7 separate regions of the Homo sapiens genome follow, and all the other regions are linked to region 3. Evidence: promoter capture Hi-C in 16 types of primary human blood cells and fetal thymus (Javierre and others, 2016). All regions are on one chromosome and are shown on one strand. The core of a region is centred on a gene start or on the middle of the fragment in contact, and the rest is flanking DNA. Distances in the headings are between cores, read along the strand shown. Region 1 overlaps ACOT9 (acyl-CoA thioesterase 9). Region 2 overlaps PDK3 (pyruvate dehydrogenase kinase 3). Region 3 holds the start of KLHL15 (kelch like family member 15). Region 4 has its middle 15 kb from the start of PRDX4. Region 5 has its middle 42 kb from the start of PRDX4. Region 6 overlaps PRDX4 (peroxiredoxin 4). Region 7 overlaps ACOT9 (acyl-CoA thioesterase 9).

Region 1 (4,306 bases), core at 643-3,142, 330 kb after region 3:
AGGAGTTCAAGACCAGCCTGGCCGAGATGGTGAAACCCCGTTTCTACTAAAAATACAAAAATTAGCCGGGCGTGGTGGCGGACGCCTGTAATCCCAGCTACTCGGGAGGCTGAGGCAGAGAACTGCTTGAACCTGGGAGGCAGAGGTTGCAGTGAGCTGTGATCATGCCACTGCACTCCAGCCTGGGTGACAGAACGAGACTCCATCTCAAAAAAAAAAAAAAAAAAAAATCTGTAGCCAAGACCGTTCCTTTTTTGACAGGAAGGTAACTTAGAAGAAAAAATAATCTCTGAAAAAAGTCCTCCCAAGAAGGAAGCAATATTTATTGTGGGTTCTACATTAGTGTTCACAAACTTGGCTCTGCCTCAGAATTAGGTGGAAAGTATTTTTGTGTGTGTGTGTGTGTGTGAGACAGAGTTTCACTCTGTCGCTCCAGCTGGAGTGCAGTGGCATGATCTTGGCTCACTGCAACCTCTACCTCCCGGGTTCAAGCGATTCTCCTGCCTCAGCCTCCTGAGTAGCTAGGATTACAGGTGTCAGCCCCCATGCCTGGCTAGTTTTTGTATTTTTAGTAGAAAGGCGGTTTCACCATGTTGGCCAGCTGGTCTCAAATTCCTGACCTCAGGTGATCCACCTACCTTGGCCTCCCAAAGTGCTGGGATTATAGGCATGAGCCACTGCACCCGGCCGGTGGAAAGCATTTTTAACAAAAAATTTTTAGGCCAGGCACAGTGGTGGCTCATGCCTGTAATCCCAGCACTTTGGGAGACTGAGATGGGAGGATCGCTTGAGACCAGCCTGGGAAACATAGTGAGACCCTTTCTCTACAAAAAGTTAAAAAATTATCTGAGCATGGTGGTGTGCACCTGTAGTCCCAGTTAGGAGGCTGAGGTGAGTGGATTGCTTGAGTCCAGGAGTTTGAGTCTGCAGTGAGCTATGATCATGCCACTGCACTCCAGTCTGGGTGACAGCAAGACCCTGTCTCAAGCAATTTTTTTATATTAGTTTATGTAATGTTTATTGAAATCACAGTGTCAACAAGCACCTCTGGCATGAAATAGTCACAGGAGCGAACACAACTATCTCTTGGAAGCATGCAGTTTGACTCATGGAATCAAGCATGTGCTGTACTATAATAACTTGTCTCTCCATGCCGTAATGCCATCCTGACTGAGATTTACCTGGCCCTTCAATATAGCATTTTGCATATCTACCTATGACATGATGGGAGGTGGCTAATGGGGAGGGATGCGCCCTGGGGAGTTTTGTGAATGTGTTAAGTGGAGTTAAGAGACCTACTGCATGCTATTGTATAGATTATACATTATATATTTAACCATTTGTTGCTGTACAGTGAAGCTTTTTCTAGTATTTCTTTTTTGCTATTATAAACAATGTTGCAGTAAATATCCTAAATACTCTAAAACATTTGACCCTTAAATTATTTTCTTTGGAAAAATATTAAATGAGATATTTAGGTCAAATAGTAGGCACACGTTGAAGGCTTTGAATATGTATTTCATGTAACCCTTCAGAACAGTTTCACACAATCACTTACACATCAGCAATTTCCCTGAACTTTGCCAATTTTTATCTTTTCTTTTTAAAATATCTTTGCCATTTTGATAGGTGAAGAATGACCTTCTGCTGGATGTGGTGGCTCACACCTGTAATCCCAGCACTTTGGGAGGCCAAGGCAGATTGCTTGAGGTCAGGAGTTCAAGACCAGCCTGGGCAACACGGTGAAAACCTGTTTCTACAAAAATACAAAAATTAGCAAGGTGTTGTAGTCTCACCAGTGCGCCAAAATGTAGCAGTCTTTGGTTGTCTGAGATAGTATCCGGAGTTCTTTGTGTCACAGAGCACGAACACAAGGGTGAGGTTGGAGCAAAAGTTTAGTAAGCAAAACAAGAAAGCTCTCGGCTGGATTCGGTGGCTCACACCTGTAATCCCAGCACTTTGGGAGGCCGAGGTCCGGAGTTCAAGACCAGCCTGACCAACATGGAGAAACCCTGTCTTTACTAAAAATACAAAATTAACTGGGCGTGGTGGCACACGCCTGTAGTCCCAGCTACTTGGGAGGCTGAGGCAGGAGAATCGCTTGAAGCCGGGAGGCAGACGTTGCGGTGAGTTGAGGATCGCGCCGTTGCACTTCAGCCTGGGCAACAAGAGCAAAATTCCGTCTCAAAAAAAAAAAAAAAAGCTCTCCGCAGCGGAGAGTGGGGGCCTGAACGGGTTGCCCACTATGAGGTTGGGGTCGGGGGTTTTTGCGGACTGGGAAGGGGAAGGAATTTGCTTAGTCTGTGAGCTGTCTTGGAGAAAGCTAGATTCAGCTTGGCCCGGGACCAATCAGGAGCTGAATTGATGATTCATTGAGACCACTCAGCTTGGCCCGGGACCTATCAGGAGCTGAAGTGAAAGCTTGGCCCGGGGACCAATCGTGCTGAAGTAATTCTTAGAGGCCGGGCTCACAGTCGAAAGAGGAAAGGAAAGTGCCCATCGGAGTCGTCGGAGCCCACAGTATTAATGCCCACGAAAGGAGAAGAAACTTTTTCCCGGGAACCTGCTGATTATACAAAAGACAAAGACATTTCTATGTCAGGTCTTGTTCCCTTATCTGAGTGAGCTGGAGGTTTGTGCAAGTTTTTATCTAAGTGGGCTGGAGGTTCTCGGATCTGTGCAGCCGCGGGCTTGTCTCCAGGCACACCACCACCCTGTGCTACTTCCCTTATCGGTGCCTGCAGCTTGATTTTTATCCCCAGGCTGCTTTCTCTGTTCTGTGGGGATGAGGCACTGACCCGTGGGTTGGGGGCTCTTTGGGGACCCTTCCCTTGCTGTCTACCTAAGGAAAGCTAGCTAACTCCTCTCAGAGTGATGGTGCACACCTGTAGTCCCAGCTACCCAGGAGGCTGAACTGGGAGCATTGCTTGAGTCCAGGAGTTTGAGGCTGTAGTAAGCCAAGATCACGCCACTGCACTCCAGCCTGGGCAACAAGTGAAACCCTGTCCCCCCCCACCCCCCCAAAAAAAGAAAACTGACATTTGTTAATTGCCTTTCTCTGAATTCTACTGAGATTGAAATTAAATTGCTTATTGTTTTTGTTGTCTTTTTGTTAAATTGCTCACGTAATTTTGGATACCAGAATCTTCACCCCAAATCTGTCCTCTACCAATACAGATATAAAAGCTAGAGGTTTTGGTTTTTAATACAGGACTTTTAAGAAGATGAGGTGAAGCAAACTAACGGATATACACTAGGTTCTGGATTATTAGTGTTATGTCCCTCTCAAAGAATAAAGGAGAATTTTTGACCGGGAGCGGTGGCTTACGCCTGTAATCCCAGCACTTTGGGAGGCCGAGGCGGACGGATCACCTGAGGTCAGGAGTTCAAGACCAGCCTGGCCAACATGGTGAAACCCCGTCTCTACTAAAAATACAAAAATTAGCTGGGCATGATGGCAGGTGCCTGTAATCCCAGCTACTCAGGTGGCTGAGGCAGGAAAATCGCTTGAACCTGGGAGGCAGAGATTGCAGTGAGCCGACATGGCGCCATTGCACTCCAGCCTGGGCGACAGAGCGAGACTGCGTCTGAAAAAAAAGTTAAAGGAGAATTTTTACCCAGCACCAGCACTGCTAAGTTCTAGCATACATCTTCCTCATGTGAGTTGGACATTGTTTTATATTAAATAGTCTGTGCTGAGATCCCAGTTTTACTTCAGGCATTTATTACCAAGTTCTTAGTTTTTGCCTCCATGCTTCTTCAATGTGTAGTCTTTGAGGATGCTGTCTTTTTCACTGGTTTCTTTAGGAGAGTTTACTTCATTCTAGTATGCTTTGCACTGTGTTGGGCATGTCCATGTGATTCTGTGGTAACCCAAATCTTCTGTCAACGTGTTCCATCTGATACCTGTGTTTGCTCTGATCCAATCTGCTTTCTTGCACCTTTTTGAATAGAGCCAAGCACTTGACTCCTAGAGAACTGAAGTTGCACCCAACTCCCCTGGGGTTTCAACATTTTTCTTTTTCTTTTCAATTAGTTTGTGCAGTTTATCTTTCTAAAGATATACTTGATTCTGTGGGATGGCTGGGCTCACCTGGGAGGTTCTTCTGTTCCATGTAGCATTGGCTAAGGTCACTCAGTCAGCTCTGTTCATCTGGGAGTTCATCTGGGGCTGGGACATCTGGTGCCTCAGCTGGGGTGGCTGAGGTGGCTGGCTACCAGCCTGGTTGGATTTCTTTCTTTTTTTTTTTTTTTGAGTCAGAGTCTTGCTTTGTCACCCAGGCAGGAGTGCATTGGCACTATCTTG
Region 2 (4,246 bases), core at 702-3,201, 460 kb before region 3:
ACATAGCTGCAGTGAAATACGTGAACATTTCCAGTAAGTAGGATAAGGACTATGGAATCAAGTCAGTTCAGGTCTGGTTTTGCCACAAAATGAGTTGTGGCAGCAAATATATGAAAAAGAAATTCAATTTTCAGAGTTTTTTGAGTTCAGGATTCAGAGAAAAGCTTATGGTCCTGCGGGGCGTTGATGACAAAGGTCAGGTGCTGAAGTTCGATGACAAAGGTCAGGGTTTGAATCTTGACTAGAGCATTCACAAGCTTCATGAGCAGGGGTAAGTTTCTTTACACTTCTAAACTTCATTGTAACCACCTATAAAAAAAGAGCAGTATCTACTTCACAGAGATTTGGTGAGGGTTAACATGTGCTTAACATTTAAACCAGAGGCAGTGGCTCACGCCCGTAATCCTAGCTACTTGGGAGGCTGAGATGGGAAGATCATGTGAGGCCAGGAGTTCGAGACCAGCCTGGGCAATGTGGCAAGACCCCCATCTCTATAAATAAAAACTTAATAAACCACAATATTTAACAGTCACATATTCTTAAAACTTAGAAGAGGGGCTAATTAAATAGCAATCACTAATGACGCTGATGATGCTCAAACAGAATAGTCTGAGGCCATGGGATACACAATCGAACTGTCAGTTACTGCTTGGTCAGCCCTGAGAACCCATTCCCTGGGCTCATCTGATGATTCTGCAATAGTTAAAACTCAACTACTAGGCATGGTCTAAGAGAACCAAATTTCAGGAAGCATTTTCTTCAAGCTTCCTTGGATTATCAGCCTGTTATAAAACTCATGTGGAAAGAAACTTTTATCTGTCTCTCTATCCCCCATAGCACATATTATAGTGCCTCGCCTATGGTAGCTTCTCAATGATTTTTTCAAATAATAGATAATGCTTTCAGAAGTTTGTTTTTTTCTTTGTTTGTTGTTGATTTCTTTTTTTTTCTTTTTTTTTTTTTTTTTTGAGACAGAGTCCCACTCTGTTGCCCAGGCTGAAGTGCAGTGGTGTGATCTCGGCTCACTGCAACCTACGCCTCCTGGGTTCAAACGATTCTCCTGCCTCAGCCTCCTGAGTAGCTGGGATTACAGGTGCCCATCACCACGCCCAGCTAATTTTTGTATTTTTAGTAGAGATGAGGTTTCACCATGTTGGACTAGCTGGTCTCCAACTCCTGACCTTAAGTGACCTGCCCGCCTCAGCCTCCCAAAGTGCTGGGATGACAGGCATGAGCCACCACACTCAGTCCAGAAGTTCGTATTTTTTAAAAAGAGTAGTTGGAAAATTTCAGGTTTTGTCTCTTACATTCTACATTAGGTTTAGGGACAAATTCTTTGTACTCAGACACCTTAATTATATATCAGCTTAAATAGGAGGATAAGTCTTTTTTAGTTAATTAGTTAGCCTAAAAATAAGTATGAAATGCCTGATTTTTATAACCTTTCTGTGCTTTCTTCACGTACATTGAAAGTATCTTTCCTATGTATTAATGCCGGATACTCAGTTTAAATGAAAAGGTTCTAACAACCATTTTTTTTTAAATAATAAACTTACCAAGAAAAACATTTTGGTTTTAAATGAATGTCCTCGCCAGAGGGTTCTGTTTTGATAAGTCTTCTGGTATATTGTGTATTTTCCAGTTCTGCTTTCCAATTATTTGACTTCATTTTTTCCCTACTTACTTGGCTTCTCTACATTCCTTAATTTTGACTTTCTATTTTTATTCTGCATTTCTCAATATACTTCATCTTATTCAAATTTACCAATTAAGTTTTTCCCTGGTATCAGTTCAAAGATGACAAAGGGAGCAGGTGAGGGGGCTTGGAAAACTCTGACTTAGTGGATGCAAACAGGTCATTAGACTCAAATACACTCATGTGCATTTCTTCTGTTTTTCTCCTAAGTTTGACGATCCTTTCATTCTCCTTTGTTTCTGGTTTGTTTGTTTGTTTTTGAGACAGAGTCTCTCTCTGTTGCCCAGGCTGGAGTGCAGTGGCGCAATCTTGGCTCACCAAGTGGCGGCAACCTCCACCTCCTGAGTTCAAGCGATTCTCCTGCCTCAGCCTCCTGAGTAGCTGGGATTACAGGCATGCACCACCACACCCGGCTAATTTTTGTATTTTTAGTAGAGACGGGGTTTCACCATGTTGGCCAGGTTGGTCTCGAACTCCTGACCTCAGATGATCCGCCTGCCTCAGCTTCCCAAAGTTCTAGGATTACAGGCGTGAGCCACTGCGCCTGGCCTCTGTTTGTTTTTTATACTTTGTCCTTTTATTGGGAAGCTGGAGACAATTACTATATTTGCAAAAGGTATGATTTGCTTTGTCTAGAAAGGTTCCATATAGCTTCACATTCACCAAGACCTAGGGTGAATAGACACAGAAATATAAATGACTTTCAATGTAATGCAGGGAGCCTTCCCTATGGTGGGACCAGGAGGTAGCCAAGAGCGTTTAGCTAGCCACCTGAGAGCAGGAGCTCACAGACATATTTCTTTATACCTGGTTTACATAGTGGCTGATAACCCTGGCTTCGTTTTAATCCTCTTTTCGACTAATTTACAGGCGGCAGAAAAAATAATTATTTCTTCAATTAATCAAGTCACCTGATAATAAGTGTCTTTTTTTTTTTTTTTTTTTTTTTTTTGAGATGGAGTTTTGCTCTTGTTGCCCAGGCTGGAGTGCAATGGCACAATCTTGGCTCACTGCCACCTCCGCCTCCTAGGTTCAAGTGATTGATAGTAAGTACCTTTTAATTAAAGCAGAGGCTGAGGACATATTTTGTACTGTCTTCAATCAACAGAGACCATGCCTCCTAAAATGTAGAGTCTCCTCTGTCTGGATTACTTGAAGGCTTTCTTTGTCCATTGTTCAGCTTTAGCAGTTGGTGGGGGTTGGGGGGTGGTTTGGGAGTGGCAATAATGAGATAAAGAGCAATACATGGAAAAATTACCCGCAAGGCACCAAAAAACCCCAACAGAATGATCCAGCTCATTCTGATAATTTTTATTAATATCATCAACTAAATGCTTTCGATTAATATCACCAACTAAATGTCTGAGTTGGCAATGTACTTTTCCCATTAGCCATGTTTAAATTGGTAAAATATAACTGAGAACATATTATTTTAAGCTTTTTAAAAAAAATTTTCAACTTTTATTTCAGATACAGGGGGTACATGCGCAGGTTTGTTCCATGTGTATGTTGCACCTAGGCAGTGTGCACAGTACCCAATAGGTAGTTTTTCAACCCGCGCCCACTTCCCCCTCCGTCTAGTAGTTTACAGTGTCTGTTGTCCCCATGTTTATGTCCATGTGTGCAGGTGAGCTCTTCAACTTCTTTTCTCTAGTTGTAGTTATAAGATTTCAATCTGTTGAAAACACTGAATTTTAGAATAAGTCATTAATTTTTTGATTTACTAGGGTTAAACAATGATTAATTGAATAGTCCTTCAGAAGAAACAATCTGACATGTGAATGGAGACCTACCAAATGGTTGTGAATGTCCTTCAAAGAATCACTTTTTTAAAAACTTAGTTTCTACTTTTAAAATGTTTGTTTTGTTTCATGAGCAGTTTCTCACTGCCTTAAGAGCTTAAGAGTTTTCCTTTGTTCAAGAACATTTATTTCTGAATTTAAGAAGGATCAAAATAGGCTGCAGATTTGGAATCTGCCAAACTTGGGGCTGCCTCCACTCTAGGCCAGACCATGTTTTGGTTATTAATAACAGTGAGCCAATTATGCCTGTAATCCCAGCACTTTGGGAGGCTGAGGCAAGAGGACTGCTTGAGTCCAAGAGTTCAAGACCAGCCCAGGCAACATAGGGAGACCCAGTCTCCACAAAAAAATAAAAAATCATCTGGGCATGGTGGTGCGTGACTATAGTTCCAGCTACTTAGGAGACTGAGGCAGGAGGATCGCTTGAGCCAGGAGGTCGAGGCTGCAGTGAGCTGTGATTGTGCCACTGCACTCCAGCCCAGGTGACAGAGTGACACCCCATTTCAAAAAAACAAAAACAAAAAGAGTGAGTCAGAACTTCAGAGACAAAGAGCCAAATACTGGGGATTTCACGCACACTTTATTCCCTATCAAATTCAGTGCCCCAAAACATCTAGATATTACACGACTTCTTTCAGTCCAAAGTCCATATTATGATACTCACAGATGCTGTGAGTCAGGAATTTAGACAGCACGCAGAAGGGATGGCTTATCTGGGCTTCAGCTGGGAAAACCCGAAGGCTGCAGG
Region 3 (3,828 bases), core at 953-3,452:
AGATGGGGTTTCCCGTGTTGGCCAGGCTGGTCTCGAACTCCTGACCTCAAGTAATCCACCCACCTCAGCCTCTCAAAGTGCTGGGATTACAGGCGTGAGCCACCGCACCCGGCCACATTTACCACATTCTAACAGGCCACATAATTTGCTTATTTATTTTATTACCTGACACATGTAATCCGTACAAGGGCTAGAGTTTTCATATGTTTTATTCACTGATGGATCCCCAGTGGGTAGAACAAGACTTGGCATGTACTAGGCACTTACACATACTTATGGAATGAATAAATAAATAGTATAGTAGATTGCAAACCAACAATTTGTGGAATTAAGTAGGAATAAAAATACAACTATGTGAAGATCATTTACTATGTTAATATAATTACATGGTACAGTGGAAAGATCATGGGGTGGCTGGGTGCGGTTGATCACGCCTGTAATCCCAACACTTTGGGAGGCTGAGGTGGATGGATTACTAGAGGTCAGGAGTTCGAGACCAGCCTGGCCAACATGGGAAAACCCATCTCTACTAAAGTTACAAAATTTAGCTGGGCGTGGTGGTGTGTGCCTGTAGTCCCAGCTACTTGGGAGGCTGAGGCAGGAGAATCACTTGAACCTGGGAGGCAGAGGTTGCAGTGAGCCAATCACGCCACTGCACTCCAGCCTGGATGATAGAGGGAGACTCTGTCTCAAAAAAAAGAAAAAAAAAAAAAGTAAAAAGAAAAGTGATTACCAAGACAACTACCACAGACTGGGAATTTCTGAAAAGCCTCAACTTTTCTTTTCTTTTTTTTTTTTTTGAGACAGCGTCTAGTTCCGTTGTCCAGGCTGGAGTGCAGTGGTGCAATCTCGACTCACTGCAACCTCTGCCTCCTGGGCTCAAGCCATACTCCTACCTCAGCCTCCTGAGTAGCTGGGACCGCAGGCCCGCACCACCATGCCAGCTAATTTTTTGTATTTTTAATAGAGACGGGGTTTCACTATGTTCGTCAGGCTGGTTTCCAACTCCTGACCTCTAATGATCCTTCCGCCTCGGCCTCCCAAAGTGCTGGAATTACAGGCGTGAGCCACCACGCCTGGCCTCAATTTCTTAAAAAGCAAAAACAGGAGGGAGGAGGAGGGTATGCAGTATCCTAAATCCTCAGAACCCCTGGGGAAGAACCTCATTCCAACTCCACCAGCACTCCCAGGCCCAGGCTTCTAGCATGCTTCCGACCTCGCTAGCTGCTAAATAAATAGCTATTGAGGAATGTGTATTCTCAAATACTTAGGCTAGAGGGCTAAGAAAAGACAGCTTCCATCTACCTCTGTGGGACTCTACCAGTGTGAAAGGATACTCTCAAGGTATTTAACAACTCCCATTACAGTCCAGAAATTGGTGGGGAAAGTTAAAATATATTTTCTTTTCTTTTTTTTTTTTGAGACGGTGTTTTTGCTCTGTTGCCTGAGCTGGAGTGCAGTGGCTCACGCTTGTAATCCCAGCACTTTGGGAGGCCAAGGCGGGCGATCATGAGGTCGGGGGTTTGAGACCAGCCTAGCCAACACAGTGAAACCCCGTCTCTACTAAAAATACAAAAGTTAGCTGGGCACGGTGGCGAGCGCCTGTAATCCCAGCTACTCGGGAGGCTGAGGCAGGATAATCGCTTGAACCCGGGAGGCGGAGGTTGCAGTCAGCCGAGATCCACTGCACCCCAGCCTGAGCGACAGACTCCATCTCAGAAAAAAACAAGCAAACAAAAACAAAACAAACAAACAAACAAAAACAAGAAAAGAAAAGTTAGCCGAGCATGGTGGGGCACGTCTGTGGTCCTAGCTATTCGGGAGGCTGAGGTGGAAGGATTGCTTGAGCCCGGGAGGTCAAGGCTGCAGTGAGCTGAGATCATGCCTCTGCCCTCCAGCCTGGCCGAGAGTGAGACTGTCTCAAAAAAAAAATAATAATAATAACATAAAAATAAGAAATAAGAGTGAAAGAGGCATCATTGATTGAAGATAACTTGGGGAGGGGTTCATATAGTAAACGTATAGATTGATTGAAAGACACAGCCCAGTTTTAAAACTACATAAATATCCAAAAAAGCACATTTGAAATTCCACGAGACCTTGCAATGTCAAAATAAGGAGGGACGGGAAGCACGGTGATCACACAATGGCTTATGACATACACTCACTACATTTATACCTGGTACAAAGAGCGCAGAAACGTTTCAACTCTTGCTTGAATCAAGAACAGAAGCCTCTCTTTAGACAGGTCAGTGCCACATAGTAATGTATAGCTTAAAATGTTAGTTAATGTACAAAAATCCAAACTCAGCGTTTAGATGTTCGGGAATAATGCATGAACATTTAAATATTCAGAAGTGGAATGTATGCATTTTTAAAGTTTATTTTATGATTTAATTTTAAAAATTTGTTTTAATGTGAAATTCTGGGGTAATTTGTCATGTAGTAATAGATACAAATATGGCAAGCAGGGATTTTTAAATAATGAACAGAAATATCTTAAAGGAGCTATTGGAAAAGATGGAAAGAAAGTGTGAACAACTTGGGAATTTCAGTGTCTTACAGTTTTTTTAAAGCTTGTTATAGTTTAAATCGGAATAAGGAAGCGTATTTCCAAAAGATTGAAGTGATTGTGTTATCTCTCCCACGAAGTAGTCTACTTCAGCAAAACAGTACACCGTGTGCTATTTTGGCCTCTTGGGAAAGATGGTATGTTCAAGTTTGCTAGAAAGAGATAATTATCGCTTTTAGCGACACCTCTCACGGAAAGTTCATCGGGATATTGGTCTAGAGAGAAAATGGCGGCGGGGGGTGGGGGTGGGGGAAGCCGAAATACCTCAGTTTAGGATCTGCTATGGGCAATGGATGCCCTAATTTAAGGTTAATTGTAGATCCACGGGCTTCCAACTGTGTATTTCCGTCATCTACACTTTTCCCAGAAAGAGATGCCATAATAAATTTACAAAACAGTCCTATAGTCTAGTTTTATATTCTTGTCAAGAAAAGGTAATATTTAAAAAGTACTAGCTAGAATTCTATAAAAAACGAACAACAAAAATCACTGCCCTCTGAATGTTCGTTCTTGATTATTTTGACGCAAGTAGAGACAGCTTTTTTAAATCCGGCATTATCTCCGGGTGGTGCAGACATGCAATTTTTTATGAATTTTCCCACCCTTGGGAAATCGATTTCTGAAACGTGTAATTGTTGTGCAGTAAGCCAAGTGGACAGTGACGCAATAGTCCACTGCAAGTTGCCTTACAAAAAATGATGTCATTTGGCGCAGATCTAGTCACTTTTATAACAGGTAGCTATGGAAAAGCTCCCTCCACGTTGTCCCCGATTCCCCCACCCCCACCGTGGCCAAGATGCAAAAAGACACTTTCCTGGCTTCCTAGCCCTCAACTTGTCGAGGGTGGGCGCACCGCAGTGGCTCAGGGCCCATCGCTCGTGCAGGCGGAGAGAGACCGCTGCAAGGGGACGAGGACAGCTGAGTGTCCTCAGCCCCGACGGCGGCGCCGCGGGGGAAGCTGCGTCGGGCCCAGTCCAGGGCCGCGACGCCCGGCCGCCTGTTTTCCTCGGTGGGAAACCGCTGGCGTGGCGGGCCGGCAGCCGGGACGCGGGGCGCCGCGGGCGCGGGACAGCCTTCCCCGCCCCCCCTTCCCCCCCGTTCCCACACCCGCTCCCGCTCCCGTGGCGCCGGAAGTGACGCGTTTTGGGCTGAAAGATGGCGGCATTGGCGCTCGACCAGGGGGAAGGTAAACACCCGCCAGGCCACGGGCTGGCCCCCTCGGGGCGCCAGCAGGGGCCGAGGGGGGGGCCTCCCGG
Region 4 (3,911 bases), core at 889-3,388, 370 kb after region 3:
TCACTTTGGCTCTAAGAAGTCCCAAAGGGCACGGTCAAAAATTTACTTTGGATGTGGGAATAGCTGTCAGATTGGACTATGGACTGATGTGAGTTTACGGGTGGGCCTTTTTGGGTTAATACATAGGCAATATATTATAATTGATACTGCTGAGTGTTTTGTGGAAAGAGTTGTGTTAAGTATATGTAATTCTTCTCTTGATTGTAAGGGCTATTTCCAGTGGGGGAAATGCCATGATAGAGTAGTGGTAGTTGGTCGAATAGGTAACCCAGAGCCTGCCAGCCTTCTCCAACCCAGCCGTGGGGCATAAGTAAAGCAGTATAGGGTTCCATGTTGGGGGCTGGTGAAAGGAGTTCCTTTAGTTGATCAAAAAACCCTGTAGTATTTGATGCTTCCCTGTACCATATCACAAGCTCAATATGGCAACAGTCCTCATTTTTGCTCCACTTGCAGATATCAAAGTGATCACAGAGTTCATTGTTGAGAAAGAATGGCCTGGTTTGTGGTGGTGGACATGCTACTGCTTTCTTCAGCACCCCTGCATTATTTTTTCAGAGGCTTTTTGGCTTCATAGATTATAATATATGTTCACCTGCTGCCTCATAATAACCAAAACATTGTGATTTCTCATCAGTGGATAGGATGAAACCTACAAAAGACTGAAATCTAACCGGAGCTGTCCTGGTGTCTTTAAATGATGACATTATTCTGATTGTAAGGGCTATGGACACAGTATTGTCTGTGTTTAATAGTCCAATATCTGAGTGACCAGCACTGGAAGATTAATCCTGACAAGAATCAACAGCCAGTCATTTAGCTATAGTTCTGGTGAACCATGTGGGTTGGTGCCCAGAGTATAATCTTTGAGCCTGTTCAGGAAAAACTGATGGTCTTAAAACTGCCCTAAAACCAAATTTGGCACAGAACATTATAAGCTTGTTTAGTATTGGATATATTTCATGCACATAACATAGAGATTCTGTCAGCTCATTACATAAGATTGCTTGAAAGGCATTCAGCTTGACCAACAGCCTGCCTTAGAAACTCTCCAACAAGTTGTCTAGATCACCTTGCCACTGAGGCAAGTCACCCAGAGGCATTTTGAAAGAAAGTGTCAGTAACTGCTATTAATGCAGACAAAAACTTACAGCAAAAGACGTGGCTCTTTCGTTAAAGGTAATAGCACATTTTGGGATTCATTTGTGGTCCTTGTCTGAAACTATCACTTGATATATGTCACTTTAGAGGCTTTTGATGGCTTGTTAGTTGGTGTTGGTGGACATCAACAGAGTAACAAGACAAGAGCAGGTCTTGATACACCCTGAATTCTTTATTATGGGATGAATCCCAAATGAGAATGCTATTAAAGTGAGTTTTGGCTAAGAAACATTCATTTTAAAGGGAAAAGGGTATTTCTAGAGAAGAAGTACATCAGATAGTAAAGGTATCTTGGAGGTGTAGGAAAAAGTGTCCAGTCACCCTCTAGCTGTGGCTGTGTCAGATGCAGGGACTGTGCCACCTTGTTGTTCCTGGTGGCTTTGGTGCATCCAGGTTCCTGAGTGTTCCTGAGTCTTGTTCATGGATGCATCCACTAAGTTGAAGGCAGATGGGGTGTAGTAGGCTGCAGAAATTGTACATTCTGTACACAACCTGCTTGCTTCTGTGCATGAAAAGGAAATTCTGATGTATTGGTTTAGATATAGGCTGCAGTGCTTGCCTTAGAAATGGCCCCCCAATTCACCTTGTTATATTTTGAATCACTCCTGGGAAGGTGCCCATGGGCTGACAGTGTGGACTAATGCCTGGCAGGGGGCCGACTATATGATCAAGTCTCAGCCTCAGAGGTGGCAGCTATAATCAGGTAATTGCATAAAATACATACTTCCTATTTATGCCCCATGTAAATCCTTGTGGATAAAATCCATTTGGGGATGAAAATTAGTGGAATTAATAAGCTCATCAGACATGTCCTGCCCATGTTGAGATAATGGCTACCTTGATAGACTATGTAACAAGGCATGGTAGTCCATCTGCAATGCAGGATCTGGCCCCAAATTAAGACTTACTGTTTCCAGCATATGAGACCAAGGGAGTCTGGCAAATGTGTCCAGGGTGCCAGCTGTCTAGTCGAGTAGAAAGATCTCTGGATCCCACATGCAGATAGTTCAGACCTGGCGCTGTACCCTTTCTCAAGGTTACCACTGTTCATGGGCTGCAGTAGATCCCTTTTCTGTGTATGGCCTTGTCAATCCTGTGCACACAGCAGATGTGGAATTCTTTGAAATAACTGTTAGTTGGACTGGTTTAATATTTGGATTCACCAACCACATGCAGTTACACATTGGTGCAACCTTTACAGCAAACAGTACTCCCTGCAATGAACTATTTAATTCACATACTATCCCCAGACAGCAGGTGCCATTGAAAAATGACTCAAATTCTCAAAGAAAATGGGTCATTACACATTACATACATATATCAAAATATCGCATGTACCCTCAAACTATGTACAACTGTTATATATTGATAAAAAATAAAACAACAACAAAAAACCTTAGCAGAGGGGATGGTTCCAAGATGGCTGAATAGAAACAGCTCCATTCTACGGCTCCCAGCGTGAGCGACACAGAAGACGGGTGATTTCTGCATTTCCAGCTGAGGTACTGGGTTCATCTCACTGGAGCTCATTGGACAGTGGGGGCAGGAAAGTGGGTGCAGCCCACCGAGTGTCAGCCGAAGCTGGGCGAGGCAGGAAGCGCAAGGGGTCAGGGAATTCCCTTTCCTAGAAAAGGCAAGGGGTGACAGATGGCACCTGGAAAATCGGGTCACTCCCACCCTAATACTGCGCTTTTCCAACAGTCTTAGCAAACGGCACACCAGGAGATTATATCCCACGGATGGCTTGGAGGGTCCCAAGCCCACGGAGCCTCGCTCATTGCTAGCACAGCAGTCTGAGATTGAACTGCAAGGCGGCAGCGAGGCTGGGGGAGGGGCGCCCACCATTGCTGAGGTTTGAGTAGGTAAACAAAGCTGCTGGGAAGCTCGAACTGGGTGGAGCCCACTGCAGCTCAAGGAGGCCTGCCTGCCTCTGTAGACCCCACCTCTGGGGGCAGGGCATAGCGAAACAAAAGGCAGCAGAAATCTCTGCAAACTTAAATGTCCCTGTCTGACCACTTTGAAGACAGTATTGATTCTCCTAGCACAGAGTTTGAGATCTGGGAACAGACAGACTGCCTCCTCAAGTGGGTCCCTGACCTTCGAGTAGCCTAACTGGGAGGCACCCCCCAGTAGGGGCAGACTGACACCTCACATGGCCGGGAACCCCTCTGAGACGAAGCTTCCAGAGGAAAGATCAGGCAGAAACATTTGCTGTTCAGCAATATTCGCTGTTCTGCAGCCTCTGCTGCTGATACCCAGGCAAACAGGGTCTGGAGTGGACCTCCAGCAAACTCCAACAGACCTGCAGCTGAGGGTCCTGACTGTTAGAAGGAAAACTAACAAACAGAAAGGACATCCACACCAAAACCCCATCTGTACGTCACCATCATCGAAGACCAAAGGTAGATAAAACCACAAAGATGGGGAAAAAACAGAACAGAAAAGCTGAAAGTTCTAAAAATCAGAGCACTTCTCCCCCTCCAAAGGAATGCAGCTCCTCACCAGCAACGGAACAAAGCTAGACAGAGAATGACTTTGACGAGTTGAGAGAAGAAGGCTTCAGACGATCAAACTTCTCCGAGCTAAAGGAGAAAGTTCGAACCCAACGCAAAGAAGTTAAAAACCTTGAAAAAAGATTAGACGAATGGGTAACTAGAATAACCAGTGCAGAGAAGTCCTTAAATGACCTGATTGAGCTGAAAACCATGGCACGAGAACTACGTGATGAATGCACAAGCTTCAGTAGCCAATTT
Region 5 (4,214 bases), core at 233-2,732, 400 kb after region 3:
TATATGGGTTGGGAGTGGAAATGGCACCCATTTTTTGGCCTTTATTTTCTCCATCTATACCCCAGTTGAGTATTTGCTTATTTTTATCCCCCTGATGAGACCTTGAGAGAGCAAGAGAAGGGCTCAGGGAGAAAATCACACTCTTGCATGATTCGCTTTGTAATGCAGGTATGGGGTTCTGAGATAAGAAATCCTGAGTGGAAGATCTCATGGGGACTTCAGACATCATGCCCCTGCCCGATGCGGGGCCTTTCTTCTGATTGGTCACTTAAACTGCATGCCCCCCCCACCCCATAGTTCCTTGGCCTTTTGTGGTATCTACCAGTACTGAGCTCTTTTTGTACCTCCATGTGGTTCTCTTGGCTGATATTCCTTTAAAGGTATTCTCAGGCTCTTTTCTTCCCCCAGGTCCACAAATGGATTCTGGAAATCAAGTATTTTTCTTTTGTAAATGGTAGAATTGCTGTTCACTTACCAGGCAAGCTTTTGCTGTGCTCCAGGGGCACCCCCAGTCTCAGCTTTCTGTTTTTCCTTGTACAAGTCAGTTGCTAGTTCCTGTGTCCCTCAACCTTTATGGGCATCAGTCAACTTGTCTGAATCTCATTGTCAGTGGTTTACATCAAGTGAGAAGCAATCATTGTTCCTCTCTTACAAATGTGGAGAAAATGCCCACCATACCAACAACTCTTTCTAAGAATTCTTTTCTCTCTCTACCTCAAATATTATGTGTGTGTGTTGATTAGAAGTTGAAATTCAAGGTATTGGCTGGGTTTATTTTTTCTGAGGGCTGTGAGGGAACAATCTGGTCCAGCCATCTCATTTTGGCTTGTAGATGGCTGTCTTCATGTTCAAATGGCATTCTCCTGTATTTGTGTCTATGTCTAAATCTCCTCTTATAAGGACACTATTCATATTAGAATAGGACCACTATAAGAACTTTATTTTATCTTTATTAGTATTGTAACCCCCCGGTTTCCAAATAAATTTGTGCTTTGAAATACTAGATGTTAGGTATTCAACATCTGAATTTTTGAAATACATGATTCAATCAATAACAGAGCATCTGAAAAATCTCTTAAATGAGAGGGCTTGTGTTCAACCTCCTATTTAAGGTAGGCTTTCAGGAATGTTTTTCCTCTGCCTGGCCACTAGATGTGCCCTAGCCCCTGGGAACTTTTGGCCCACTTTTCTGTAGGGCTTCCTCTTTTATTTCCAAGGGTTCTTCTTGGGTACTTTAGTTTTAATACAGTTTGAAGCCATTCAATATTGTAGCCTCCACATGTGACACTGGAAATTACAGCCTTTTCTTCTGCATATGGCAAAAGTGCAGTTTGCTCTCAAGCCAGCTTCTTATTGTATCTTCTGGCAGAGAAGCTTAAACTCCAGGTTCTTGACTTCGCTTATATGAACTTATTACTAACCCTTGTGTTTCAACACTCCAGGGGTGTAAGACAAGGCTTCAGATGCTCTTTGCCATTTGTTTGAAGCAAGGAGGAAGTTCTTTTCATCCTTTCCTCTTGATGGTGGAGAAAATCCCATCACACTCCCTTTCTTATTGTCCATATTTCCACATGGAGAACATAAGCTTTTCTTCTACAGGAGATAGAAGTCACTACCCAATGAGCCCCCTTTTGTAAATTCTGGAAAGGATAGATACAGCCTCAGATTTTTTTTCTAATGAGTCAGACACTAATCTCATATTCCTATAACTTAGGGCTGTGAGTGAAGTTTACTGATGCTGTTTCACTAGTGTCATTCAAACCATCCCTCTTCCCCTCTTTCATCGTGGTGCGTCTCCAGTTATACAACTTAGAGTTCTATAGAGTAACACATGGTGGGTAATGGACAGCATCAGCTTCCACCATGAATGGGAAGATATTTTGACTTACAGATGTTCCAGGAGGAGGAACTCCCAGGTGTTATCCATGTGTAGGGCACTGCATCTACATTTTGTCCTGGTCACCCTACAGATACCCATATAGGCCACATAGGGCAGAGCTTGAGCATGGTTTATCTAAATGTGGCAGAATGCCTTGCAGTCTTCTCAGAATGCAAGAGGATAGGAAGCTTGTGAGGTATTGCTCTGAGGCCATCTTCCACTCACCTACGTATCCTCCTTGAAAAGTTTTTATGAGGCAGTTTTTCATCTTCTCCGTGGTCTTTTGGGATGGGGGCTTTGTGCTGCCCATCCACCACCAGAATAGTGCTGCAGAATAGAAAACACCTTAATGTTCACAACACTGGTACTCATAAACAGACCACATTGATAAATTATTTGATGATAAGGGCCATGTGATCTTTCACCTTTGTCTCTGAGACACGTGCTGTCTTGAGTTGATAGTTCATGTTAGACATAAATCTAAGAAATGCAATTCCTCTTTGTTGAGTATCCATCTGTGTTACTGGGAAATTGAAACAGTTTTCCCCTGGCCATTACCTATGACCACAAGGAAAACAGTAGCTGCTGGTAGAGTGCAGTCACTTATATAGAGATATTCTGAAGTCTACTTCTACAATGAACAGAATGGAAGGAACATGAAGGATAGGTTTGAGTAAAAGCCCGATGAGTCTATAGAGGTTTCCTCCTCCACAAACAGATGAGGGAGCACTGGCAGTCGTGTTGGAGGGAGTGAGCGGAGATCATTGTTTTGCCTAATCACCTACCCAGTGTTGTAAGGAGATCACCATTTTGCCTAAAAATCTACCTGATGTTTTAAGCCTGCCTGGCCATGACTACATTGCTGATGATATGAGGGAGACCAAGAAGACCTAGAAAACCTTGCTAATGTCTGTGCTGTTTGGAATGTTGTTGATCTAACACCTTCAACACCACATTTCTACCCAGACTTCTCCTCTTTCAAGAGGAAATAGCCGGGTGCGGTGGCTCACACTTGTAATCCCAGCACTTTGGGAGGCCGAGGCGGGCAAATTGCTTGAGGTCAGGAGTTCGAGACCAGCCTCGCTAACATGGTGAAATCCCATCTTTACTAAAAATACAAAAATTAGCCGAGTGTGGTGGCACATGCCTGCAATCCCAGCTACTCGCAAGGCTGAGGCAGGAGGACTGCTGGAACCCGGGAGGCGGAGGTTGCAGTGAGTCAAGATCGCGCCATTGCACTCCAGCCTGGGAGACAAGAGTGAGACTCCATCTCAAAAAAAAAAAAAAAAGAACAAATAGGTCTAGGGTAAAGGTGAGGTCCATTCTTCTCTAATAGCAACTAGAGGCTTTATCCACTTGTCAAAGTGTGTTGGAGGCTTGGCATCACTTTCCAAACTTTTTCAGTCCTTATGGATGCTGAGGCACAAGTCCCTGTAATGCCTTGAAGCCTCCATGGGCATGGTACAATTTTTACTTTGGATGTGGAAATAAGTCTCAAATTAGACTGATGTAAGTTTATGCGTGGGCTCTTATGGAACAGTACACGCAAGATGTTGTAACTGATACTATTGAGTGGATTGTGGGAAGAGCTGTGTTAAGTATTTGTGATTCTTCTCTTGATTATAAATGATGTTTCCAATGGGGAAATGCCATGATTGGAACAGTGGTGTTATAGAACCAAATTGGGGTCTGCTTGCCTGATGTAGTAAAACCAGATATCCACACTGAGGTTTCTGCAGCAATAGAAAAGAAGGTGTTTATTTGCAGAATGCCAAGCAAGGAGAACTAGGCAGCTATTGCTCAAATACTGACCTCTTTGGTGGCTGCAGGTAAGGCTTTTTAAAGGCAGGGTTAAATTTCAAGAAAGCAGAAGCTACAGGCAAAATCATAAATCAATGCGTCGAGGTTACACATTGGGTTTGGCCTAAAAGGGTAGGATATGTTGAAGCGGGGCTTACAAGTTGTAAGTAGATTCAGAGGTTTTCTGATTTGCAATTGGTTAAGGAAGGAAAGCTTTGTTTAAAAATTTTGGGTCAGCAGAAAAAAATGTTAATTGGCTTTGGAGTGTGACTCCAAGGCCCTCAGGAAGAAATTTAGAACAGAGAACAGTGGTCAGAGTTCACCACTGAACAGTCTTCAGTTCCCCTTTATTTGAAGTCTACGTGCCAGTGGATCCATTTCGTGGGGGTCCTCAGTATGTGTGTGTGGGGGTCCAAGTTTCTGAAAGATAACTCGGGACATATGTTAAGACATTATCTTTATTTTATTTTATTTTATTTTATTTTATTTTATTTTTGAGATGGAGTCTCTCTCTGTCACACAGGCTGGAGTGCAG
Region 6 (3,005 bases), core at 1-2,500, 350 kb after region 3:
CCACTTCAGTATTTATAGATCTGAATTCTTCAAGTCTGTCGCCAAAAGCGATAATTTCAGTTGGACACACAAATGTGCTGAAAGGTAAAAAAAAAAAAATATTCAGTATTCTCCAAATAAGCATATACCTAAACTTTCAAATGACAATTTTTACAAATACCTTTAATAATAAAAATGCACATTAAGAACAATTTTATATTTGAACCTTTTCAAAATGGAGTAGTCTAAAAGACTGTCATTTAATCAAATATTTAAGACAGAAACATATTACAGAGTTCCCAACTACATCTCAATAAACTTTCTTATTACAACTTAATAGATCAGTAGTCAACCAATGTTCCCTTCTCCCTTATAGCAATAGCCACCCCTCATTTTATTACTTTTATTTAATAATACCTTTTATTTATATAGTATTTTATAGCTTTCAAAGGATCTATACAAATTTTATGTCATTTCACTATTTTTTTTTTAATATTCCTATACCAACCCTATGAATTAGATGCATCTATGTGTATTTTGGAGAGGAGGCAATGTTTTCCAGTACCCCCACCCCTCCTTTCTTGATAAGGTCCTCTTCCACCTTGTCTACCAGTCCTGTGCAGCCAGGGATTTTATACCTTAATACCCTCATGTTGTCAGGCCATGTTTACAGAATATTACTAGGGTGGCATTTTTTCAAACCGTGGTAGGGACTCCTTAAATTAACTGAGTTCTAAAAAATATTTTTAAAAAGTGAAATCGAATAGAAAACAGGAGACTCTATCATACATACTAAGGGTAAATTATGAAACACATATTTATATATACAAATATATATGTTTGTCTTCAACAGTGATGATATTCAAAATATTTAACAATCTTAACTCAAAGCTGGCTTTAGTTCTGGAGGTTTCTGAAAGGGATCAGGCAGGAGGACTAACTAGTTGGTGAGGAAAGGGAAGTGGCTATTTACCACATGATATGAGGGTTTTTCAGTATTTTAAGGAGCATGGCTGTGCTGGTGCATCCAGATGGAATGTTACCGTATATATATGTGCCTGTGTACTGGCTGACAACGAAAAATGTATTTCCTACTGTGAGACATGGTCAAGAAAGTTTGAAAAACATAGACTTAGTTAGGGCACAAGTTCCTACCAGATACCAATACAGGATTTTAACATGTTTCAGGTATTCAGGTACAGCACTGTCATGTCCAAGTAGACAGTTCTAATCTCGGATGATGTCCCTGGAAACCTGGGCTATAAAATGTATTTTTAATATTTTCTAAAGGGTAGGAATGGTCAGCCTCAGCCTTCCTTTTTTTTTTTTTTTGTGGCAGGGTCTCACTCTGTCACCCAGGCTGGAGTGCAGTGGCGCGATCTCAGCTCACTGCAACCTCCGCCTCCCGGGTTCAAGCAATTCTCCTGCCTCAGCCTGCTGAGTAACTGGGACTACAAACGCCCACCACCACGCCCGGGTAATTTTGTTTGTATTTTCAGTAGAGACGGGGTTTCACCTTGTTGGCCAGGCTGGTCTAGAACTCCTGACCTCAGGTGATCCGCCCATGTTGGCCTCCCAAAGTGCTGGGATTACAGGCGTGAGCCACTGCACCCAGCCTCTGCCTTTCTTCTTATTTCAAGGAATGCTACCTAGAGATACATTTGACCAACTTCTTAGTGAAGACAGAAAAAGTTTTGGCAGGAAACTGAAGGGTTACGTTTGTAACTTTCCTCCTTGTAGACTGTGGCAAATGCCCCAGAATTCTTCCTTCTCTAACCAGGCACAGTCCAGCATTACATGAAAACAGGAAGAGGCTATCTTAGCTCCTTGTCCCAGAAGACCATTGCTAACAACATGCTCCAATTAACTATCTCTTACCCATTATGGAGTTATGAATAACAATGGAGAAACACAGAACATATTTTTCTGCTACATTAGACTAACTTCCAAATTCAGGGTGTTAGTCGTATATATTTAACATACATGTTAACCTTCTGGTTTTATAACAACATGAATTTAGAAGGCCTGTCATTTTTTATGTCTACTGAAATTTCTACTTCTGGTTTCTATTAGAAATTAAGCTATACTTAAAAAAATCAAGTCACAATATGAGTTGATTAGAAAGAAGCAAGTTCTTATAATTTAAAAGATTATATATTATGCAGACTCATAACTTTAGTCTCAATGTAATAATTTTCATGAGAATTCTTCCTTTGTGGCTTAGAGCAGGGGTTGGCAAATAGGTCAATAGGCCAAATCCAGCAGAAAAAATTTGTTAATCCCTGGCCTAGAAACAACCTATAGCAATGAGCTTAAGTATACCCTCCCTGCAAGTTTAAATTTGATCTATGTAGTTCCAGATTAGTCCTAATGGAAAAAGGCACAGTGGCAAAGATAGAGGAGGAAACTTCTAGTTATTTGTTGTAACCAAAAAGTAAGTTCCAAGAGAATAAAAGATAAAAATTGACATAACTCTTTTTGGTCTCTTCTCACTTTCATGAATTTTGAAAAACACTCAAAATAGTGTTTTGTAAAATAAAATTAAATCCTCAACGTGAATAAAGCTGTAAGGGTATTTACTTTTAGTCAACTTTCTGACCATATACAAAAACGCTCACTGTCACAGAGTTAAAAAAAGACGAGAAACCCCACAATAACCATAACATATACACAGGTGTTATTCCTTATTCCTTAAGCAGTATATAATATTTTCAGCAAAATGTTCAAATCCCAGAAAAGCAACAGATGCAGCAAAGAATAAAAATGGAAAAACCACAGTTACATGGTATCACTAGAGAAAATGGCTTAATTTTCTTTTTCTTTTCTTTTTGAGATGGAGTCTCGCTGTCGCCAGGCTGGAGTGCAGTGGCACTATCTCAGCTTACTGCAACCTCCGCCTCCAGGGTTCAAGCAATTCTCCTGCCTCAGCCTCCCGAGTAGCTGGGACTACAGGCGCGTACCACCACGCCCAGCTAATTTTTGCATTTTTAGTAGAGATGGGGTTTTACCATGTTGGCCAGGATGGT
Region 7 (4,316 bases), core at 366-2,865, 300 kb after region 3:
TCTGCTTCTCTGGCTGCTCTTTTGTAGTCCCCTTTGTAGGTTCCTCTTTTTCTGTTGATCCCTTAAATGTAGGTTATCCCCAGGGTTTTGTCTTCTGCCCTTTCAAAAACTGATTATTTTTTGAATTTATTTTATTTTATTTTGTTTATTTATTTTTTTTGAGCTGTAGTTTCGCTCTTGTTGCCCAGGCTGGAGTGCAATGGCGCTATCTCAGCTCACTGCATCCTCCATCTCCCGGGTTCAAGGGATTCTCCTGCCTCAGCCTCCCATGTAGCTGGGATAACAGGCACACACCACCACGCCCGGCTAATTTTTTGTATCTTTAGTAGAGACGGGGTTTCACCATGTTGGCCGGGCTGGTCTCGAACTTCTGACCTCAGGTGATCCACTCGCCTCGGCCTCCCAAAGTGCTGGGATTACAGACGTGAGCCACTGCGCCCGGCCTTTTGAATTTTATAATTTGTTCATATTAATTAAATTTTAAGGCATTTTAAAATTTAACAATAAAATTGTTAAATCTTTTAAAATTATTTATTTAGTTTTTGAGACAGGGTCTCACTCTGTCACCCAGGCTGGAGTGCAGTGGCGTGATCACAGCTCACTGTAGCCTTGACCTCCTGGCTCAAGCAGTCCTCCTGCCTTAGCCTCCTGAGTAGCTGGGACTACGGGTGCACACCACCATGCCCAGCTAATTTTTTTGATTTTTAGTAGAGACAAGGTCTGCCATGTTGCCCAGGCTGGTCCCAAACTGCTGGACTCAAGGGATCCCCCCACCTCGGCCTCCCAAAGTGTTGGGATTACAGGTGTGAGCCACTGCGCCCAGCCCTATTTTTTCAGTTGAGGTTAAAATATAAAATTTACCATCTTTATCTTTTTTTTTTTTTTTTTTTGAGACAGAGTCTCACTCTGTCACCTAGACTGGAGTGCAGTGGCACCATCTCGGCTCACTGTAACCTCTGCCTCTCGAGTTCGAGCAGTTCTCCTGCCTCAGCTTTCGACGTAGCTGGGATTACAGGCATCTACCACAACGCCCAGCTAATTTTTGTATCTTTAGTAGAGATGGGGTTTTGCCATGTTGGTCAGGCTGGTCTCAAACTCGTGACTTCAGGTGATCCCCCCACCTCGGCCTCCCAAAGTGCTGGGATTACAGGTGTGAGCCACCGCGCCTGGCTCATCTTTATCATTTTTAAGTGTACTGATCAGTGGTAAAAACTACATTTATATTACATTTTCCTCCGTCTCTTCTCTACCCTTCCCTTCTGCCCTTTTTTGGGTTGACGTTGCAGATTCTCTATAAACTCATCTACTCCCAGTGTTTCAGTTGCTATCAGTATGCTGAATACTTACAAAGCTACATTTTCTGGCCTGCTTTTCTGAGTTTCAATCAATTTTTCCTCTTAGCTACTAGATTTATTTTTCTTTTTTAGAGACAGTCTCACTCTGTTGCCCGGGCTGTAGTGCAGTGGTAAAATCATAGCCTACTGCAACCTTAAACTTGCGGGCTCAAGTGTTCCTTCTGCCTCAGCCTCCTGAGTAGCTGGGACTATAGGCACACTGCACCATGCCTGGCTAATTTGTTTTGTTTTTTTGGAATAGGGTCTTGCTCTGTCACCCAGGGTGGAGTCCAGTGGTGCGATCACCACTCACTGTATCCTCGACATCTCGGGCTCAAGCATCCTCCCATCTTAGCCTCTCAAGTAGCTGGGACCACAGGCACACGCCACCATGCCTGGCTAATTTTTGTATTTTACTGTAGAGACGGGATCTCACCATGTTGCCTGGGCTGGTCTGGAACTCCTGGGCTCAAGTGATCCATCTGCCTCTGTCTTCCAAAGTGCTGGGATTACAGGCTTGATCCACCATGCCTGGCCTAATTTTTAAAGTTTTTTGTAGAGACAGGGGTCTCACTCTGTTGCCCAGGCTAGTCTCAAGCTCTGGGCTCACGTGATCCTCCTGCTATGGCCTTGCAAAGCCCTAGGATTACAGGTGTGAACAACTGTGCCCTCCCCAATACCTTCATTTGGATGTGCCATAGGCTCTTCAAATTCAACGCATTGAAAATGGCCCATTCTTTTCTTCCTATATTCTCTTTTTATTTTGAGACAGAGTCTTACTCTGTTGTTCAGGCTGGAGTGTAGCGGCATGATCATGGCTAACTACAGTCTTGACCTCCTGGGTTCAAGCAATCCTCCTACCTATCTCCCGAGTAGCTGGGACTACAGGCATGTGCCACCACACCTGGCTAACTTTTGTGTTTTTGGTAGAGATGGAGTCTCTGCTGTGTTGCCTGGGCTGGTCTTGAACTCCTAGGCTCAAGTGATCTTCCTGCCTTCGCCTCTAAAAGTGTTGGGATTACAGGCATGAGCCACTGTGCCCAGTCTCTCTTCTCTTTTTCAGTGACTAGTACACCACGCTTACCTATGCAAGCTAGAAAACTGAATTTATTCAAGTCTTCTCAGGTTTACCTTCTTCTTAACTCATAGTCTTTTCATTTCTACTCCTGTTGCCATAGGTTGGAGCCATCTGATTTCTTTGCTGGACAAAGACTTTTAAATGGAGTTTATTGCCTTTAGCCTATCATTCCCCCAGTGTGTCCTTTAGCAGGTGCATAGATGGAAGGATTTACACTTACTCAACAAGTATTTATTGAGCCACATATCTTGTCTGAGAGTTTGTGATACAAATTTGAATGGATCATGGGGGAAGCAGGGAGCCAATCAACATATAATCATACAACTTTTTTTTTTTTTTTTTTTTTTTTGAGACAGTCTTGCTCTGTTGCCAGGCTGGAGTGCAGTGGTACGATCTCGGCTCACTGCAACCTCTGCCTCCTGGGTTCAATTGATTCTCCTGCCTCAGCCTCCTGAGTAACTGGGACGCCACCACGCCCGGCTAATTTTTGTATTTTTAGTAGACATGGGGTTTCACCATGTCAGCCAGGATGGTCTCGATCTCTCGACCTCGTGATCCGCCTGCCTTGGCCTCCCAAAGTGCTGGGATTACAGGCTGAGCCGCCGCGCCCGGCCCAACGTATAATTATACGACTTTAAATGAGTTGATATCTGTAAGGTGCATGAACCATGCATGGCACATATAAATGCTTGTTAAAATATGGAAAGTATACAGATAACCACAGGGTGGTATAGGAGTCAAGGGTGTTATGGGGAAGGAGGGATAACTGAGTGAAATAATTGTTTCATGATTAATTAGGACAAAGCCAGGAGGAAAACAGGTAGCCAAGTCCTTGTGCTTTGTTTCTCTTTCCTGAAGATGTTTGATACTGTCAGACTCATGTGCTGAGTTCTTACTCTGATTTGGGCACTGAGTCTCTGTGGAGTGGTAACAAGCTGTCTGGTGGGTCTGGGCTTGCTTCGGGCTTTGATTTCTTCACCAAATCTTAAAATTGAGGGGGCAGTCAGATTGGAGGATCTCCCAAATCCTTCAATTTATAAAAGTGTTTGATCCTAGGATAAGATGATCAATGGAATATTAGGGGCTGGATCTTCCAAGCGAGACAAGGCTTTTCATGGATCTCAGGGAGGAAATTTTAAATGTTGGGAAATAATTCTGCCTTTTTAAAATTTGGTACACTCCTGTTTCCCTGCAGTTCTTATTTGTTACATGCACAACAAAATCCACTCCGCCAAGATGTCTCCTTTATCGATAGTTACAGCCCTGGTGGATAAGATTGGTAAGTGATATCATTTTCTATGCATACTTAGAATTCTTAGTAATTTCAAGATATTATTGAGATTACAGGACGTACTCTCCTTTTATGGGAATTTTTTTTTTTTTTGAGACGGAGTTTTGCTCTTGTCACCCAGGCCGGAGTGTAATGGCACGATCTTGGCTCACTGCAACCTTCGCCTCCCAGGTTCAAGCAATTCTCCTGCCTCAGCCTCCCGAGTAGCTGAGATTACAGGCATGTGCCACCACGCCCGGCTAATTTTTGTATTTTTAGTAGAGATGGGATTACACCATGTCGGCCAGGCTGGTCTCAAACTCCTGACCTCAGGTGATCCACCTGCCTCGGCCTCCCAAAGTGCTGGGATTACAGGCATGAGCCACCGTGCCTAGCCCTTTATGGGGAATTTTAATGTATATATGCATATGAAAATGTCTAGAATGCTGTATACCAAGATATTTATTATAATTAGGTGGGTTTTGCATGATTCCAGTTTTATTTTTTATATTCTTTGCTTTTTCTACATTTTTCAAAAACACATGTAGATTTCTTCTGCGTGTCAAAAAAGTTATTTTAGTTTTGAAGACAAAAAAGAAATGTAGTGGAATTTGCCATAATTTCTAATTGTTCA

The links. The method cuts DNA at HindIII sites, captures the fragments that hold promoters and counts their contacts. A CHiCAGO score of 5 or more calls a contact.
Region 1: a contact is called between a fragment that was not itself captured here and the fragment with the promoter of KLHL15 in region 3, in 16 of 17 cell types (M0 macrophages, naive B cells, total B cells and 13 more). The highest score is 13.2, in M0 macrophages.
Region 2: a contact is called between a fragment that was not itself captured here and the fragment with the promoter of KLHL15 in region 3, in 1 of 17 cell types (non-activated CD4 T cells). The highest score is 6.7, in non-activated CD4 T cells.
Region 4: a fragment that was not itself captured here is called in contact with the fragment with the promoter of KLHL15 in region 3 in 3 of 17 cell types (total B cells, activated CD4 T cells and neutrophils); the score reaches 6.3 in total B cells.
Region 5: a contact is called between a fragment that was not itself captured here and the fragment with the promoter of KLHL15 in region 3, in 1 of 17 cell types (total B cells). The highest score is 5.8, in total B cells.
Region 6: a contact is called between a fragment that was not itself captured here and the fragment with the promoter of KLHL15 in region 3, in 14 of 17 cell types (naive B cells, naive CD8 T cells, non-activated CD4 T cells and 11 more). The highest score is 14.0, in naive B cells.
Region 7: a fragment that was not itself captured here is called in contact with the fragment with the promoter of KLHL15 in region 3 in 16 of 17 cell types (neutrophils, monocytes, activated CD4 T cells and 13 more); the score reaches 16.9 in neutrophils.

What each region holds. Positions count from the first base shown.
Region 1 is chrX:23,698,175-23,702,480 of GRCh38, reverse strand. ACOT9 (acyl-CoA thioesterase 9) reads left to right here. Exons shown (of 16, transcript NM_001037171.2): 16 at 1-1,426. Among named protein-coding and RNA genes, the nearest start is that of PRDX4, 33 kb to the right of the region's middle. The HindIII fragment of the contact is 1,062 bases long and covers 1,362-2,423 here.
Region 2 is chrX:24,486,407-24,490,652 of GRCh38, reverse strand. All of the region lies in intron 1 of PDK3 (pyruvate dehydrogenase kinase 3), which reads right to left. Among named protein-coding and RNA genes, the nearest start is that of PDK3, 23 kb to the right of the region's middle. The HindIII fragment of the contact is 2,369 bases long and covers 767-3,135 here.
Region 3 is chrX:24,025,560-24,029,387 of GRCh38, reverse strand. It overlaps KLHL15 (kelch like family member 15), which reads left to right and starts at 2,202. Exons shown (of 4, transcript NM_030624.3): 1 at 2,202-2,248. RefSeq lists enhancers at 1,123-1,622, 2,830-3,333, 3,334-3,828 and silencers at 3,501-3,600, 3,611-3,828. The HindIII fragment of the contact is 3,234 bases long and covers 1-2,578 here.
Region 4 is chrX:23,650,485-23,654,395 of GRCh38, reverse strand. No RefSeq gene overlaps it. Among named protein-coding and RNA genes, the nearest start is that of PRDX4, 15 kb to the left of the region's middle. The HindIII fragment of the contact is 2,402 bases long and covers 938-3,339 here.
Region 5 is chrX:23,623,800-23,628,013 of GRCh38, reverse strand. No RefSeq gene overlaps it. Among named protein-coding and RNA genes, the nearest start is that of PRDX4, 42 kb to the left of the region's middle. The HindIII fragment of the contact is 211 bases long and covers 1,377-1,587 here.
Region 6 is chrX:23,672,062-23,675,066 of GRCh38, reverse strand. PRDX4 (peroxiredoxin 4) reads right to left here. Exons shown (of 7, transcript NM_006406.2): 3 at 1-77. Among named protein-coding and RNA genes, the nearest start is that of PRDX4, 6.1 kb to the right of the region's middle. The HindIII fragment of the contact is 4,829 bases long and covers 1-3,005 here.
Region 7 is chrX:23,722,045-23,726,360 of GRCh38, reverse strand. ACOT9 (acyl-CoA thioesterase 9) reads left to right here. Exons shown (of 16, transcript NM_001037171.2): 7 at 3,608-3,691. Among named protein-coding and RNA genes, the nearest start is that of ACOT9, 19 kb to the left of the region's middle. The HindIII fragment of the contact is 5,864 bases long and covers 1-4,316 here.